Regions from separate parts of the Homo sapiens genome. Here all the other regions are linked to region 1. The links are contacts of gene promoters, found by promoter capture Hi-C in blood cells and fetal thymus (Javierre and others, 2016). All regions are on one chromosome and are shown on one strand. Each heading gives the region's core, a stretch centred on a gene start or on the middle of the fragment in contact. The rest is flanking DNA. Distances are from core to core; before and after follow the strand shown. Region 1 holds the start of MAN2A2 (mannosidase alpha class 2A member 2). Region 2 has its middle 33 kb from the start of NGRN. Region 3 has its middle 27 kb from the start of ZNF774. Region 4 has its middle 5.6 kb from the start of ZNF774. Region 5 has its middle 15 kb from the start of IQGAP1.

Evidence for each region. The method cuts DNA at HindIII sites, captures the fragments that hold promoters and counts their contacts. A CHiCAGO score of 5 or more calls a contact.
Region 2: a contact is called between a fragment that was not itself captured here and the fragment with the promoter of MAN2A2 in region 1, in 1 of 17 cell types (activated CD4 T cells). The highest score is 6.5, in activated CD4 T cells.
Region 3: a fragment that was not itself captured here is called in contact with the fragment with the promoter of MAN2A2 in region 1 in 9 of 17 cell types (total B cells, erythroblasts, activated CD4 T cells and 6 more); the score reaches 8.8 in total B cells.
Region 4: a contact is called between a fragment that was not itself captured here and the fragment with the promoter of MAN2A2 in region 1, in 1 of 17 cell types (activated CD4 T cells). The highest score is 5.8, in activated CD4 T cells.
Region 5: a fragment that was not itself captured here is called in contact with the fragment with the promoter of MAN2A2 in region 1 in 1 of 17 cell types (naive B cells); the score reaches 5.1 in naive B cells.

Annotation. Positions count from the first base shown.
Region 1 is chr15:90,901,892-90,904,772 of GRCh38, forward strand. It overlaps MAN2A2 (mannosidase alpha class 2A member 2), which reads left to right and starts at 1,411. Exons shown (of 23, transcript NM_006122.4): 1 at 1,411-1,541; 2 at 2,299-2,448. The coding sequence starts at 2,317. RefSeq lists enhancers at 452-501, 2,342-2,401 and silencers at 672-941, 962-1,391. The HindIII fragment of the contact is 23,300 bases long and covers 1-2,881 here.
Region 2 is chr15:90,297,623-90,300,503 of GRCh38, forward strand. It overlaps the pseudogene GOLGA2P8. Among named protein-coding and RNA genes, the nearest start is that of NGRN, 33 kb to the left of the region's middle. RefSeq lists a silencer at 2,499-2,691. The HindIII fragment of the contact is 8,093 bases long and covers 1-2,881 here.
Region 3 is chr15:90,324,007-90,326,887 of GRCh38, forward strand. No RefSeq gene overlaps it. Among named protein-coding and RNA genes, the nearest start is that of ZNF774, 27 kb to the right of the region's middle. The HindIII fragment of the contact is 8,593 bases long and covers 1-2,881 here.
Region 4 is chr15:90,345,273-90,348,153 of GRCh38, forward strand. It overlaps the pseudogene GABARAPL3. Among named protein-coding and RNA genes, the nearest start is that of ZNF774, 5.6 kb to the right of the region's middle. The HindIII fragment of the contact is 2,574 bases long and covers 209-2,782 here.
Region 5 is chr15:90,372,065-90,374,945 of GRCh38, forward strand. No RefSeq gene overlaps it. Among named protein-coding and RNA genes, the nearest start is that of IQGAP1, 15 kb to the right of the region's middle. The HindIII fragment of the contact is 837 bases long and covers 1,092-1,928 here.

The sequences.
Region 1 (2,881 bases), core at 161-2,660:
CTCACAGTTCTGGAGGCTGGAAAGTCCATGATAAGGCATAAGCGGATTCAGTGTCGGGTGAGGGCCTGCCTGTGGTGCACAGATAGTGCCTTCTAGCTGTGTTCTCACGTGGTTGAAGGGGCCGACTCTCGGGGTCATTTGATACCGGCACTAATCCCATTCATGAGAGCTCTCCCTTCAAACTCTGTTCACCCCCAAAGGCCCATCTCCTAATACCATCATCACCTTGAGGGATTAGGATTTGAACATGAATTTGGGGGGTCACATTCAGATAATGTTATATATAACTTAAAAAGAACAAAAATGTGGAATTCATGGAGATGTTCATTGCAGTATGGATTACACTGAAAAACTGTAAACAACCTAGATGCCCAGTAAAAGGGAAACAGCCAAGAAAAGTCTGTGTCTTGTTCACTCGCTGGCAGGAAACATAGAGCAGGCACGGAAAGGAAAGGGACTCGAGGAATGCGCTGTACCGACAGGAGGCAGCACCCCTTTGCCCGAGGGGCGCAACGACAGAGACCTAAGGCTACCTGGGCCGGAGCCGGGTGAGGCCGCGGAGAACGCACCCCGCTACGCGTCTGCCGAGACGGAGGCGGGCGTTTCGACCACTGCCCGATCATGCGCTTACTCAAGTAGGATTCCGAAAAAATTCAGTCGCGCGTCCCTCCTGAGGTTCCGCAGCTGGCCAGGCCCGGCCCGGGCTGGTGCGGCTGCGCACTGCAGCCCAGCGGAGCGGGCCCGGGAGGAGCCGGGCGGGGACCGCGGCGGCCAGAGCTCCTGTCAGCTCCGCCGGGCACACGCAGGCCGGGGCGGGCGGCGCGGCTGTCCCCGCCCCGCACGCTGCTGGGCCCGGCAGCTTCAGAGGCTGGCGGACCCGCGCGGGGCCGGCGCAGCGGAGCGCGCCGGCGGCCCGGGGCCCAGCGGGAGCGCGGCAGCGGCGCGCGGAGCAGGGGGCTACGGGTGGGCGGGCGCCCGCCTTCGCCTGCGTCGCTGCCTGCACGCGGGCCGCCGTCCCCGGGCGTGTGAGAGCCGGCAGCTCGGCCGACTGGGCCCGGAGCGGCGCGGAGGCCGGGCGCTGACGGTAACGGGCCGGGTGCGCGCGCGGGAGGGCTCCGGCTGCCCCGACAGAGGCCGGGCTCGGGCGGCGGGAGTGCGAGCGCCACTGCGGCGTCAGAGGGGCCAGGAAGGGACAGGAGGCTGCCTGAGGCCCGTACCTGGCGCCTGTCTCTGCGGTCCCCGGGGCCGACGAAGTCGGAGCGGGTGGGGAGGGAGCCGGGCGGGCGGCCAGAGACCTGGCGGCAGGTGCCTGCCCTCTGTGATCCAACTCTCTCCCCAGCTCCACCCACATTGGCCTAGACCCAGTCTCTAAGGGCTGAAAATATTGCCCGGAAGCTCCCGAGCAGAATCAGATCGCGCTAAGTAGGGCACAACGCAGAGGCGACAAAGCTCCTCGGCCCCAGGGCCCGCGGAGCAGACTCCGGAGCGCGGTCCCGCCCACGCTCGGCTCCGCAGTTAGCGTCCTCCTTCCTCCTGAGCAGGCAAGCGGAGCCCGAGGGCGGTGGCGGCGGGGGGCACGGGTCCCCTGAAGTTGCCTCGCAGCTGAGCACTGGGCCCCGTCTCTCCCTTCCCAGGGGGCCTTCGGCGTCACTGCAGGCTTCCTAGGGGTCCCCTAAGTGCTCTGCAAACCGCGGCTGGAAGTTTCCCACTGCAGTGAACAGTAGAGAAACAGGGAGAACACACAGGGCTTGCTTTATGCTAGAAACACAAGCATCTTTCTTCTTTATTAGAAAGAAACTCATTCTGTGTTTCTGAGAAAGGATCGTGCCAGGCACTGTTTCTGGTGAGTGCCAGTTTGACCCGAAAGGGCACTGAGAAAGGCTTTCCTATCAGTCTCTTTGGGTTCTGGCTAAACTTTTAAATCAAACAAAATAGAGACTAGCTTATTCACCTGAAACTAGAAGCACATGGCCGAGGAGCCTGAACAGGCACCTCCTATCTAGGCAGGGAAGCTGTGTAATCAGGAGCTTGTGTGGTGCGCTCCAGTCGGAGCTGGGACTCTTATCCTGGGCCCGTTTTTCATAGCACCAGCCAAAGGAGAGCGTCCTCTCCACCCTAGCGGCAGAGCTGCTACCAGGACCAGGTGGGCCAGCCTCAGATGTGCTGCTTGTGCTACTTGGAGCCAGGCAAATGGGTGTTCCTTTGGAACAGCCCTCAGGAACTCACTGGGGTATTTGGTGGAAAGACTGCCACGGGCATTTTGCATGTTGGAGCTACAGATGGTGTCCTTCCTGCCAGGTGTGTGTGGAGGCCAGTATGAAGCTGAAAAAGCAGGTGACAGTGTGTGGGGCTGCCATCTTCTGTGTGGCAGTCTTCTCGCTCTACCTCATGCTGGACCGAGTGCAACACGATCCCACCCGACACCAGAATGGTGGGAACTTCCCCCGGGTGAGTCGTGCCTGGTTGCTAATTTCTTTGTATACAAGTCACCTGGGCTCAGGGTATGCACCTCCCACCCCGCCGCCTCCCCTCCCACCCCCCGCTGGAGGGTAATGTCAGTACAGGACAGGAGCCTTCCTTCCCAATAGTCAGGTTTTGTAGAAACCCTCAGCTAAAAACAGTGATGGCGAAAAGAAGGAAGGAAGAAAAAATGTCAATGGCAATGAGTATTGTCACTCTGTTCTCCTGAATTCTTTTCTTTCTTTTTTTTTTTTTTGAGACAGAGTCTCGCTCTGTCGCCCAGCCTTGAGTGCAGTGGCGCGATCTTGGCTCACTGCAACCTCCGCCTCCCAGGTTCAAGCAATTCTCCTGCCTCAGCCTCCCAAGTAGCTGGGACTACAGGAGCCTGCCACCATGCCCGACTAATTTTTGTATTTTTAGT
Region 2 (2,881 bases), core at 173-2,672, 600 kb before region 1:
CAAATTGTATGAATTTATTAATGTATTAGATAAACCTAGTTTCAGAATGATAAACTGTTAGACCAAATAATGTGGCTAATTAACAGTGGTACGATTTCTAGCCCGAGGGTTTAAAATGGACTTAAGGTCCTGTTGTTGCCTTTTATTTTCTGAACTTGCTGCTTTTGCATTCTTTGAGTTCAGTTTAAAGACAGTTACTTTAAGTCCATTTTAAACCCTCGGGCTAGAAATCGTACCACTGTCAATTAGCCACATTATTTGGTCTAACAGTTTTTCTTTATCATTCTGAAACTGGGTTTATCTGATACATTGATAAATTATTTCAAAGGTATTTTAATAGTTCAAATCACTTCACTTTTACATTGATAAATGTAAATGACTAGGAATGACCTTCGGATAGCGTTTAGCATCTGTAATCAATCTGACAATAATGTGTTCATCAGGTACCTCTGGATTAACTCACATACCGGCATACTTAAGCTGAATGTCTGTCTGGAAATAAATTTACTATATTAACTGAGATACTACTTTTTGTGTAGGTATTTTTGTCATATATTTAAGAAAAAGCTAACAAGGATGGAAATCATATTATAATAACTTAAGTCTTTCTTCAAAGGGCATGCAGTCTTTTGCAATACCTCATTCAGCCAGATATTTGTTCTCTTTCTCATTCAGTATAAGACAGCTTTCAATTTGCTTAGCAGGCAACATTAGAAGGTTAGAGTTCATGGAAACATAGAATTTTAAAATGTGAGTTCAACCGAATAAATTTGAATTTCTGTAGGAGGTAAAGAATCAAAATACTTGTTTATTTAAAGGTTGCAGTATATGATAATCATTTTGAAGTATTTGATTAATACTAATAGGTTTTCCAGAACTGAAAAACTAATGTTAAAACCAAAGCTGATTTCTAGAAAATTTGAAAATGTAAATCAGCCTTATCCAGAATATAGTTTCTCTAAAACTTTCTTAGTCATTTTACAATAGTATAACTATTAAAAAATGTAACTGCTATTTTAATGTTTTGAAATAAATTAAAACATTTTAAAATATGAATACTGTAGCTTAAAAGAAAGAAACTAGGGGAAGGAAAAGTAAAGAAAGAAATGCCAATTCCAGTCCAAAACTTTATTTGCCAAGTTTTCTTATAATGACTTACCAATTTAGGAATTCTTGTAAACAGAATCTATAATGGAAATACTGAAAGACTTTTGCCTAAAGTGGCATTATTGAATACTGCTGTGATGCTACTGTATGTAATAAATTATTGTTGCAAAGTGCTGTTTTTGCCTTAAATTTTTATTTTGTGTGTCTTGAAAACTATAGTATTAAAGGTATTGAGATTGTGCAAATGCCAGGCATGCTTGGCATGAAATAGTGTTTTTATTTTTACAAAATTGTAATATGACTATGCAAGCATTTAACTAATTAATTAATTTATTTATTTTGAGATGGAATTTCACTCTGTTGCCCAGGCCAGAGTGCAGTGGCACGATCTCGGCTCACTGCAACCTCCACCTCCTGGTTTCAAGCAGTTCTCCTGCCTCAGCCTCCCGAGTAGCTGGGACTACAGGTGCACGCCACCATGCCCAGCTAATTTTTGTATTTTTAGTAGAGATGGGGGTTTCACTATGTTGGCCAGGCTGGTCTCAAACTCCTGACCTCGTGATCTGCCCACCTCAGCCTCCCAAAGTGCTGGGATTACAGGCGTGAGCCACCGCGCCCGGCTGCAAGTGTTTACCAAAAGAACACATACTGAAAAAATAGTTATGGGATTTTAAAAAGTTAGGAGATTAAAAAAAGTTATGAGATTTAAAAAGTTATGAGATTAAAAAGTTATGGGATAAAGTTACGTTATGGGATAAAAAAGTTACGGGATAAAAAATGTTATGGTCAGTGGCTCACTGGGCTTACAGGTGTGAGCTACCGCCCTGGGCCTAGTTCCCTGCTTTTGGATGACCGCGATCTTCATCTCATCTTCACCTGTCTCCCCCATCAGACACTTCTCCAGGCTTTGCTGAAAGTGGCCTGCTTTTATTTATTTAATATTTATCACATAACTTTTTTTCGTAAAACTTTTTTTGGAATATTTTTCCATAACTTTTTCCATAACTTTTTTCCCACAACTTATTTCCAAAACTTTTTTATTTTTATTTTTTTGAGACGGAGTTTTGTTCTTGTTGCCCAGGCCGGAGTGCAATGGCACAATCTCAGCTCACCGGAACCTCCACCTCCCAGGTTCAAGAGATTCTCCTGCCTCAGCCTCCTAAGTAGCTGGGATTACAGGCATTCACCACCACGCCTGGCTAATTTTGTATTTTTAGTAGAGATGGGTTTCTCCATGTTGGTCAGGCTGGTCTCAAACTCCCTATCTCAGGTGATCCACCCACTTTGGGATCCCAGTACTTTGGGAGGCTGAGGCGGGCAGATCACCTGAGGTCAGGAGTTCAAGACCAGCCTGGCCAACATGGTGAAACCCTGTCTCTACTAAAAATACAAAAAATTAGCCAGGTGTGGTGGCGGGCGCCTGTAATCCCAGCTATTCGGGAGGCTGAGGCAGGAGAATTGCTTGAACCCGAAAGGCAGAGGTTGCAGTGAGCCCAGATGGCACCACTGTACTCCAGCCTGGGCAACAGAGCAAGACTCCATCTCAAAAAAAAAAAAAAAAAAAAAGTTACAGAAAAAACGTGATTAAAAAAAGTCATGGGATAAAAATAAAAACAAAAGCAGGCCCCTGTCAGCAAAGCCTGGAGAAGTGGGGCCAGAGGCTCCACCCCCACCATGTCCCTGCCACCCCTTCCCAGTCACCCCTTTACCATTAGAGTAGCAAGACAAGACCCCTGTCTAATAGGGAGAGACAAACAGACCCTTTGCCACCCTG
Region 3 (2,881 bases), core at 252-2,751, 580 kb before region 1:
AAGAGGTTTCTTGACTGTGCGCGGTGGCTCACGCCTATAATCCTAGCACTCTGGGAGGCCAAGGTGAGGTGGACAACTTGAGGTCAGGAGTTCGAGACCAAGGTGACAACATGGTGAAATCCCCGTCTCTACTAAAAAGACAAAATTAGCAGGGGGTGGTGGTGCATGCCTGTAATCCCAGCTACTTGGGAGGCTATTATTTTTAGTAATAATAATAATTTAGTAATTTTTGTATTTTGTATTTTCACCATGTTGGTCAGGCTTGTCTTGAACTCCTGACCTCAGGTGATTCACCCACCTCGGCCTCCCAAAGTGCTGGGATTACAGGTGTGAGCCACCACGCCCCGCCACCAAAACCAGTTTTATTGAGGCAGCAGTGTTACCGCTCTGTAACTGCTCCTGCAGGAAGAGCTAGCCCATAGTCAGTGTGTGGAGAGTAGCAGCTAAGGGGCAGTTCCACAGTCATATTTATACCCACTTTTAATTACATGCAAATTAAGGGATGGGTTTTTCAGAAATTTCTAGGAAAAGGGTATAACTCCCAGGTTGTTGCCATGGAAAGGGGCAGTAACTTCTGGGTGTTGCCAGGGCACTGGTAAACTGACATGGCACTGGTGGGCATGTGTTATGGAGAGGTGCTTTCCCCTCTTCCCTGTTTCAGCTAGTCTTCAATCTGGCCTGGAGTACAGGCCTGCCTCCTGCCTCACAACTGCTGCTAATCAGGATGTATACTGAGGGTAACTTGACTCTATGCTCCCAGTTTGCAATATCTAGCTTGGCCCAAATAGATCCTCTGTCTTACTATTGTTATTTATTTTTTTTTAAGAGAAAAGGTCTTGCTCCTGTTGCCCAGACTGGAGTGCAGTGGCAGGATCTTAGCTCACCATAACCTCGAACTCCTGGGCTCAAGCAATCCTCCTGCTTCAGCCTCCTGAGTAGCTGGGACTACAGACATGAGCCACCATGCCTGGCTAATTTTTAAATTTTTTGTACAGATGGGGTTTCACTATGCTGCCCAGGCTGTTCTCAAACTCCTGGCAAGCAATCCTCCCAACTCAGCCTCCCAGAATCCTCGATTACAGGAGTGTACCACTATGCCCAGCCCCAGATAAATTCTCTACTTATATTAATTTTGCTTCAGCTTCCTTCTAGGTTGACAGTTCCCAGTTGACTCTCAAAATGTTTGTGAAATTAAGCAATTTCACTGGGGCATGGTGGCTCACACCTGTAATCCCAGCACTTTGGGAGGCCCAGGTGGGCAGATCTCTTGAGGTCAAGAGTTTGAGACCAGACTGGCCAACATGGTAAAACCCTGTTTCTACTAAAAATCCAAAAAAAAAAAAAAAAAAAAAAAGTCAACCAGGCATGGTAGCGCACGCCTGTAATCCCAGCTACTCGGGAGGTTGAGGTGGGAGAATCACTTGAACCCAAGAGGCGGAGGTTGCAGTGAGCCGAGATCATGCCACTGCCCTTCAGCCTGGGCAACAGAGAGAGACTTCATTTAAAAAAAAAAAGGCAATTTATTTAGTGATGTAAAAGTTTTCATGGATATATAAGGGAATCAGGGAGTCCTCAAGGCGGAAGAAGGTGAAGGAACAGAGCAGGGGAGGAAGAGGAGGGAGGAGAATCTCCCCCAGGCTGAGCAGACCAGGGCACTGAGCTCCAGATGTTTGCACCCCTCCTTTGTTTTCCCCATCTCTTCCCTACTCTCCAGGCCAGTCAGATGGCAAGGCCTGGACAACTGGAAGGAAAGAGAATGAAGGATGGAACTGGGGCGGCAGCTGTGTTGGCCACACAGGCCCTTCTGACTGGGCAGCATGGAGGCCACTTCTGCCAGCCTGAGAGTTGCAGAAGTAGATGGCAGGGAATCCCCTGCTTGGGGATGACACAGTAGGTAGATTAGAAAGTTGGAGAACAGGAACCGTAAGCCACTAGCAGGAACATGGTTGAAGAGCCGACCGTGGAGTCCAGACTGAGGGAGGAGGTAGAAAAGGAACAATAAGCAAGGAAGCAGAGGAGGCTGTGGCAAGGATAATGGGCAGCCCCAGTTATTCTAAGGGAAAAGGAGAGATGGAGTTGAGAGGCTGAAATGGAAGCAGCTCTGTGATGTGGCTGGCCTTTCGAGGTTACTGGAGCAGAGGAGGTAAAGGGACCATGAGCACAGGTGGTGGTGCTGTAATTAATAAGGATGAGGCCGGGCACGGTGGCTCACACCTGTAATCCCAGCACTTCAGGAGGCCACGGCAGGTGGATCACTTGAGGTCAGGAGTTCTAGACCAGCCTGGCCAACGTGGTGAAACCCCATCTCTACTAAAAATACAAAAAATTAGCTGGGTGTGTGGCGGGCACCTATAATCCCAACTACTCAGGGGGCTGAGGCAGGAGAATCACTTGAACCCGGGACACGGAGGTTGCAGCAAGCTGAGATCGTGCCATTGGACTCCAGCCTGGGCGACAATAGCGAAACTCCGTCCCCCCACCAAAAAAAATAATAAAATAAATAAGTATGCTGAAGCCACTGAGGATGAGAGCAAGACACTGGGATAAGGGGAGCCTGGTAGCCAGGTCCTAAAGCCATTCCAGAGGGCTGCAGAATGGCCCAGAGAAGAAGTTCTCAGCTAAGGCATGGCACTAATGACTAATCGATGGTTGTAATCATTTCTTCCTTTTTTTTTTTTTTTGAAACAAGGTCTTGCTCTGTCACCCAGGCTGGAGTGCAGTGGCACAATCATGGCTCACTACAGCCTTGACTCCTGGGTTCAAGCAATCCCCCTTCCTTAGCTTCCCAAAGTAGCATTACAATCAGCACCAGGAATTGAGCCCAGCTGAACTGAGCCACCATACGCATAGCAACTACAATTGAAATCTAGATGGGCGTGCT
Region 4 (2,881 bases), core at 246-2,745, 560 kb before region 1:
TAGCCAAGTGCAGTAGCACATGCCTATAGTCCTAGCTGCTTGGGAGGCTGAGGTGGAAGGATCACTTGAACCTGGGAGTTTGAGGCTGCAATGAACTATGATCACACCACTGCATGGAAGCCTGGGTAAGAGAGTGAGACCCTGTCTCTAAAAAAAAAGTTTCAGGTGTCAACTTGACTAGATTAAGGAATACCCAGATAGCTGAGAAAGCTTTATAGTTATGCCTGTAAGTGTGTTTGGAAGAGACTGGCATTTAAATCAGTAGACTGATAAGGAAGATCTGCCCTCACCCAGGGTGGATGGTAGCATCCACTCAGCTGAGGGCCCAGATAGTGCAAAAGGGCAGAGGAAAGGCGAATTTTCTCTCTCTCTCTTCTGAGCTGGGACACCCTTCTCCTGATGTTAGACATCAGAACTCCAGGTTCTTCAGCCTTCAGACTTCAGGACTTGCACCAGCAGCCCCTCAAGTTCTTGGGCCTTTGAACTTAAACTGACTCACACTACTGGCTTCCCTGGTTCTCTATATCTATATATCCTATTGATTCTTTCTCTCTGGAGAACCCAGACTAATACACTCACTGTGATCCTTGCCTCCAAGTATTCATACCTTTGTGTAGTCCCCTCCCACACTGTACCAGGGTTGGTCTGTGTGACCAAAGGAGTATGGCAGAAATGATGGTCTATCACTTCCAAGGTTAGATTGCAGCTTCTGCTTCTTTCTCTCAATCACTCACCCTGGGGAAGCCAGCTGACACGTTGTGAGGAGAAGCTACACGTGAGGAAACAGTCACATGAGGGAGCTTGGGAGCAAGCTGATCATCCAGCCCCAGTCAATCCTACAGATAACTGTAGTCCCAGCCAGTGTCTAGACTGCAACCTTGTGAGAGACCTTCAATTAGAGATACTCACCTAGGCTGTTCCAGATTCCTAATCAACAGAAATAAAATAATTTTTTTTGAGACAGGGTTTCACTCTGTCTTCCAGGCCAGAGTGCAGTGGTGCCATCCTGGCTCACTGCAGCCTCAATCTCCCCAGGCTCAAGTGATCCTCTTACCTCAGCTTCCCAGGTAGCTGAGACTACACGTACGCATCACCAAACCCAGCTGATTTTTTTATTTTTAGTAGAGACGAGGCCTTGCCATGTTGCCCAGGCTGGTCTTGAACTCCTGGGCTCAAGCAATCCTCCTGCCTCAGCTTCCCAAAGTGCTGGGATTACAGGCATAAGCCACTGCACCTGGCAAATGTTTTGTTTTGTTTTTTAAGGTAAGCAATTATTTCATTTCCTTGGTGAAGGGGTGGCCTGCCCCTCCACACCTGTGGGTATTTCTAGTCGGGTGGGACAAGAGACTGAGAAAACAAATAAGACACAGAGACAAAGTATAGAGAAACAACAGTGGGCCCAGGGGACCGGCACTCAACACACCAAGGACCTGCACTGGCACCGGCCTCTGAGTTCCCTCAGTTTTTATTGATTATTATTTTCATTATTTCAGCAAAAAGGAATGTAGTAGGAGAGCAGGGTGATAATAAGGAGAAGGTCAGCAAAAAACATGTGAGCAAAGGAATCTATGTCATAATTAAGTTCAAGGGAATGTACTATGACTGGACGTGCACGTAAGCCAGATTTATGTTTCTCTCCACCCAAACATCTCAGCGGAGTAAAGAATAACAAGGCAGCATTACTGCAAACATATCTCGCCTCCCACCATAGGGCGGTTTTTCTCCTATCTCAGAATTGAACAAATGTACAATCGGGTTTTATACCGAGACATTCAGTTCCCAGGGGCAGACAGGAGACAGTGGCCTTCCTCTATCTCAACTGCAAGAGGCTTTCCTCTTTTACTAATCCACCTCAGCACAGACCCTTTACGGGTGTCGGGCTGGGGGACAGTCAGGTCTTTCTCATCCCACGAGGCCATATTTCAGACTATCACACGGGGAGAAAACTTGGACAATACCCCGCTTTCAAGGGCAGAGGTCCCTGCAGCTTTCCACAGTACATTGTGCCCATGGCTTATTGAGACTAGAGAATGGCGATGACTTTCACCAAGTATACTGCTTGTAAACATTTTGTTAACAAGGCACGTCCTGCACAGCCCTGGATCACTTAAACCTTGATTTTATACAACACATGTTTTTGTGAGCTCCAAGTTGGGTCACAGTGGTTGGGTCAAAGTGGCTGGGGCAAAGCTACAAATTAACAACATCTCAGCAAAGCAATTGTTTAAAGTACAGGTCTTTTTCAAAATGGAGTCTCTTATGTCTTTCCTTTCTACATAGACACAGTAACAGTCTGATCTCTCTTTTCCCTTCACTTGGCCTGACAGCATTGACTTCATTACACAAGAACTTGCAGCTGACAGAACTGACACACAGATTTCCCCCAAGAGGAAGAACCCTTTTCATTTGCAGAGATGAATTGAAATGTCATGTCTGAGTGCAATTCCTGCTCCCCACTCCCACCCCACAAAATCCTATAAGTGATAATAAATCAATAAAATCCCCATGATTTACTAAAAGTCATCCCTGCAAACCTTTCTAACTAGCAGCTGCAGTGGATAACCAAGAAGGGAAGCAGCTGGCCATCACATAGCATTCCTGTGAGTGTGAGAATGAAGGGACAGCAGCATGGGAGCGAGAATCCTGAATGAGTGAGAGGTATAGATAATCTACCTCACTTCATACCTGCCCCTTCCCTACATAAGACATCTCTGTCCTGATACATGGAAAATACTAGAGGAGATGGTAGAAGTGGTTTTAGTCTGCAATTGGAAATGCCTGAAGCTTATTAAATTCCAAGGTAGGGGTGAGATGAGGAGCACCAGAGAGAAAGAGCAGGTTAGACAGAGATGCTCAACTCACTCTGTCAATTCCAGTTTAA
Region 5 (2,881 bases), core at 260-2,759, 530 kb before region 1:
GTTTATTGTTGTTCATGTTGCCTCTTCAGGGAATTTTGTTTATAAAGTACCTATTCTTCAAGGCCCCATTAAAACACCTCCCTCTCCATAAAGTATTTCCAGATCTCCTCTATCAAGCAGATAGGATTTCCTTTGGACTTCTATAATCCTTTCTTTCTACATCTTGGGTTTCACTCACTTCTTATTTCATCTTGCATTACAGTCACTTGTGTACTTGTCTAAAGGGCAGTGACTATGTTTAACTCAACTTTATGCCCTTGTTCATACTAGTACAAAAGTAAACATTTCATAAATCTTTGTTGAATCAAATCCTACTCCTCCCCTGCTTATAAAATCTTAAATCATTTCCTATTGTCTACAGACGAAAGTAGAATCTCGTTTAATGTAGAATTTAAGACCCTTCCACGGGCTCTAGCATCAACCTTCCTTTCTTGCTCTTCTCCTGGGAGGACCTTGCTTTCCGCCCCAGATACTAGATTCTTCATCCACAGTAAGGTCCCAGTCCACTAATGTTTGGCTTTTCTCTCTGTAGCTGGGATGGCAGGTTGGTCCCACCCATTTTAGTTGCCTATAAAATTCTTTTTTTTTTTTTTTTGAGATGGAGTCTTGCTCTGTTGCCCAGGCTGGTATGCAGTGGCATGATCTTGGCTCACTGCAACCTCCGCCTCCTGTATTCAGGCAATTCTCCTGCCTCAGCCTCCCGAGTAGCTGGGATTATAGGCAACTGCCACCATGCCCGGCTAATTTTTGTATTTTTAGAAGAGACGGGGTTTCACCATGTTGGCCAGGCTGGTCTCGAACTCCTGACCTCAGATGATCCGCCCTCCTCGGCCTCCCAAAGTGCTGGGATTACAGGCGTGAGCCACCGCGCCCGGTCTGAGCCACCGCGCCCGGTCTGAGCCACCACACCCGGTCTAATTTTTGTATTTTTAGTAGAGGTGGGGTTTCACCATTTTGGCCAGGCTGGTTTTGAACTCCTGACCTCGTGATCTGCCCGCCTCGGCCTCCCAAAGTGCTGGGATTACAGGCTTGAGCCACTGCGTCCAGCCCAAACTCTTTAAGAGAAAATCTCTTGGGATCTTGAAGCCAGAAGCTTGCTTTTATTACTGAGTTTGCCCTGAATCTGTCACTTATGTACTAAAAATACATAAATTTCCTTATCCAGGTGACTTGGGCTCAACTGAAGGAAACCTGAAGCATCTAAATGTTAGCACCTAAGCCTGAGTCTAGGTGCCAGCATAGCCTGTCTTCCCTCTCCAGAGTCAGAGGCATGTTACAAACAGAATATATGGACACACGTCGAACCCCACATTGTATCTCTCTAATTTATTCAATTTAATTCAGTAAACACTCATTACCTCTTATATCCAGGCCTAGTTGAGGGTGCTGGGGATACAGGTATAAACATGACAGTTCTCTTGAGGAGCACAGAGTGGTTGTGGGAAACAGACATACAGACACACAGTTTCTTTCTTTCTTTTTTCTTTTTTTTTTTTTTTTTGAGACAGAGTCTCACTCTGTCCTTCAGGCCGGAATGCAGTGAGGTGATCTCAGCTCACCACAACCTCCACCTCCTGGGTTCAAGCGATTCTCCTGCCTCTGACTCCCCAGTAGCTGGGATTACAGTAATGCGCCACCACACCCACCTAATTTTTGTATTTTTAGTAGAGACAGGCTTTTGCCATGTTGGCCAGGCTGGTCTCAAACTCCTGAACTCAGGTGATCCGCCTGCCTCGGCCTCCCAAAGTGCTGGGATTACAGGTGTGAGCCACCATGCCCGGCCCAGACACATAGTTTCAATACAAGAAGTATATGTCAGCCAGAGAAGGGCTATCTTGAGAGTCAAGGAAGGCTCCCTGGAGGAGGTATCACTTATGCCAGTTGGTACATGAATGAGTAAATGCAAACAAGCCATGATACTGAAATAAAGCTTTGTTTAATTAACCTTCACATGTAAATTCAGCCACAGAAGACATTCTGATACATGGGGGCATTGCCAGTGATTCCACGAAACTGGATAATGTCATTGATGCTTGTGGTTGAGAGAGCTTGTTTCTGTATTGTAAGGAAGGTGGTACAACCTGGCCTTTCTTTTAAAAAAAAAAAAAAATTCAAACTGGACATGTGTCAATGAACTGACTGGAGTCTTAGGGAGGAACATTGCTCCATAGCTATATGTCTCTCCCGTTTTTTCCTGTGTTAGTCTTTTTTTTTAATTTTTTTAAAATTTTTTTGAGACAGAGTCTTGCTCTGTTGCCCAGGCTGGAGTGCAGTGGTGTGATCTTGGCTCGCTGCAAGCTCCGCCTCCCGGGTTCAAGCAATTCTCCTGCCTCAGCTTCCCAAATAGCTGGGACTACAGATGCATGCCACCATGCCTGGCTAATTTTTGTATTTTTAGTAGAGACAGAATTTCACCATGTTGGCTACACTGGTTTGGACCTCCTGACCTGAGGGGTTCCACCTGCCTCGGCCTCTCAAAGTGCTGAGATTACAGGAGTGAGCCACCTTGTCTAGCTCTTTTTTTTTTTTTCTTTTGAGACAAGTTCTTGCTCTGTCTCCCAGGCTGGAACGCAGTGGTGCAATCACAGCTCCCTGCAGCCTCGACCTCCCCAGCTCAAGTGATCTTCCCACCTCAGCCTCCCCAGTAGCTGGGGCCACAGGCATGCACCACTACGCCCAGCTAATTTTTTTTATTTTTTGTAGAGATGGTGTCTCACCATGTTGCACAGGCTGGTATCCAACTGCTGGGCTCAAGCAATCTTCCTGCCATGGCCTCCCAAAGTGCTAGGATTACAGGCGTGAGCCACTGTGCCCACGTGTTAGTCTTTACATAACTGAATAGTGACTGAAGTCTTGCAGTTTCTACCTTGCCCTGCACTGG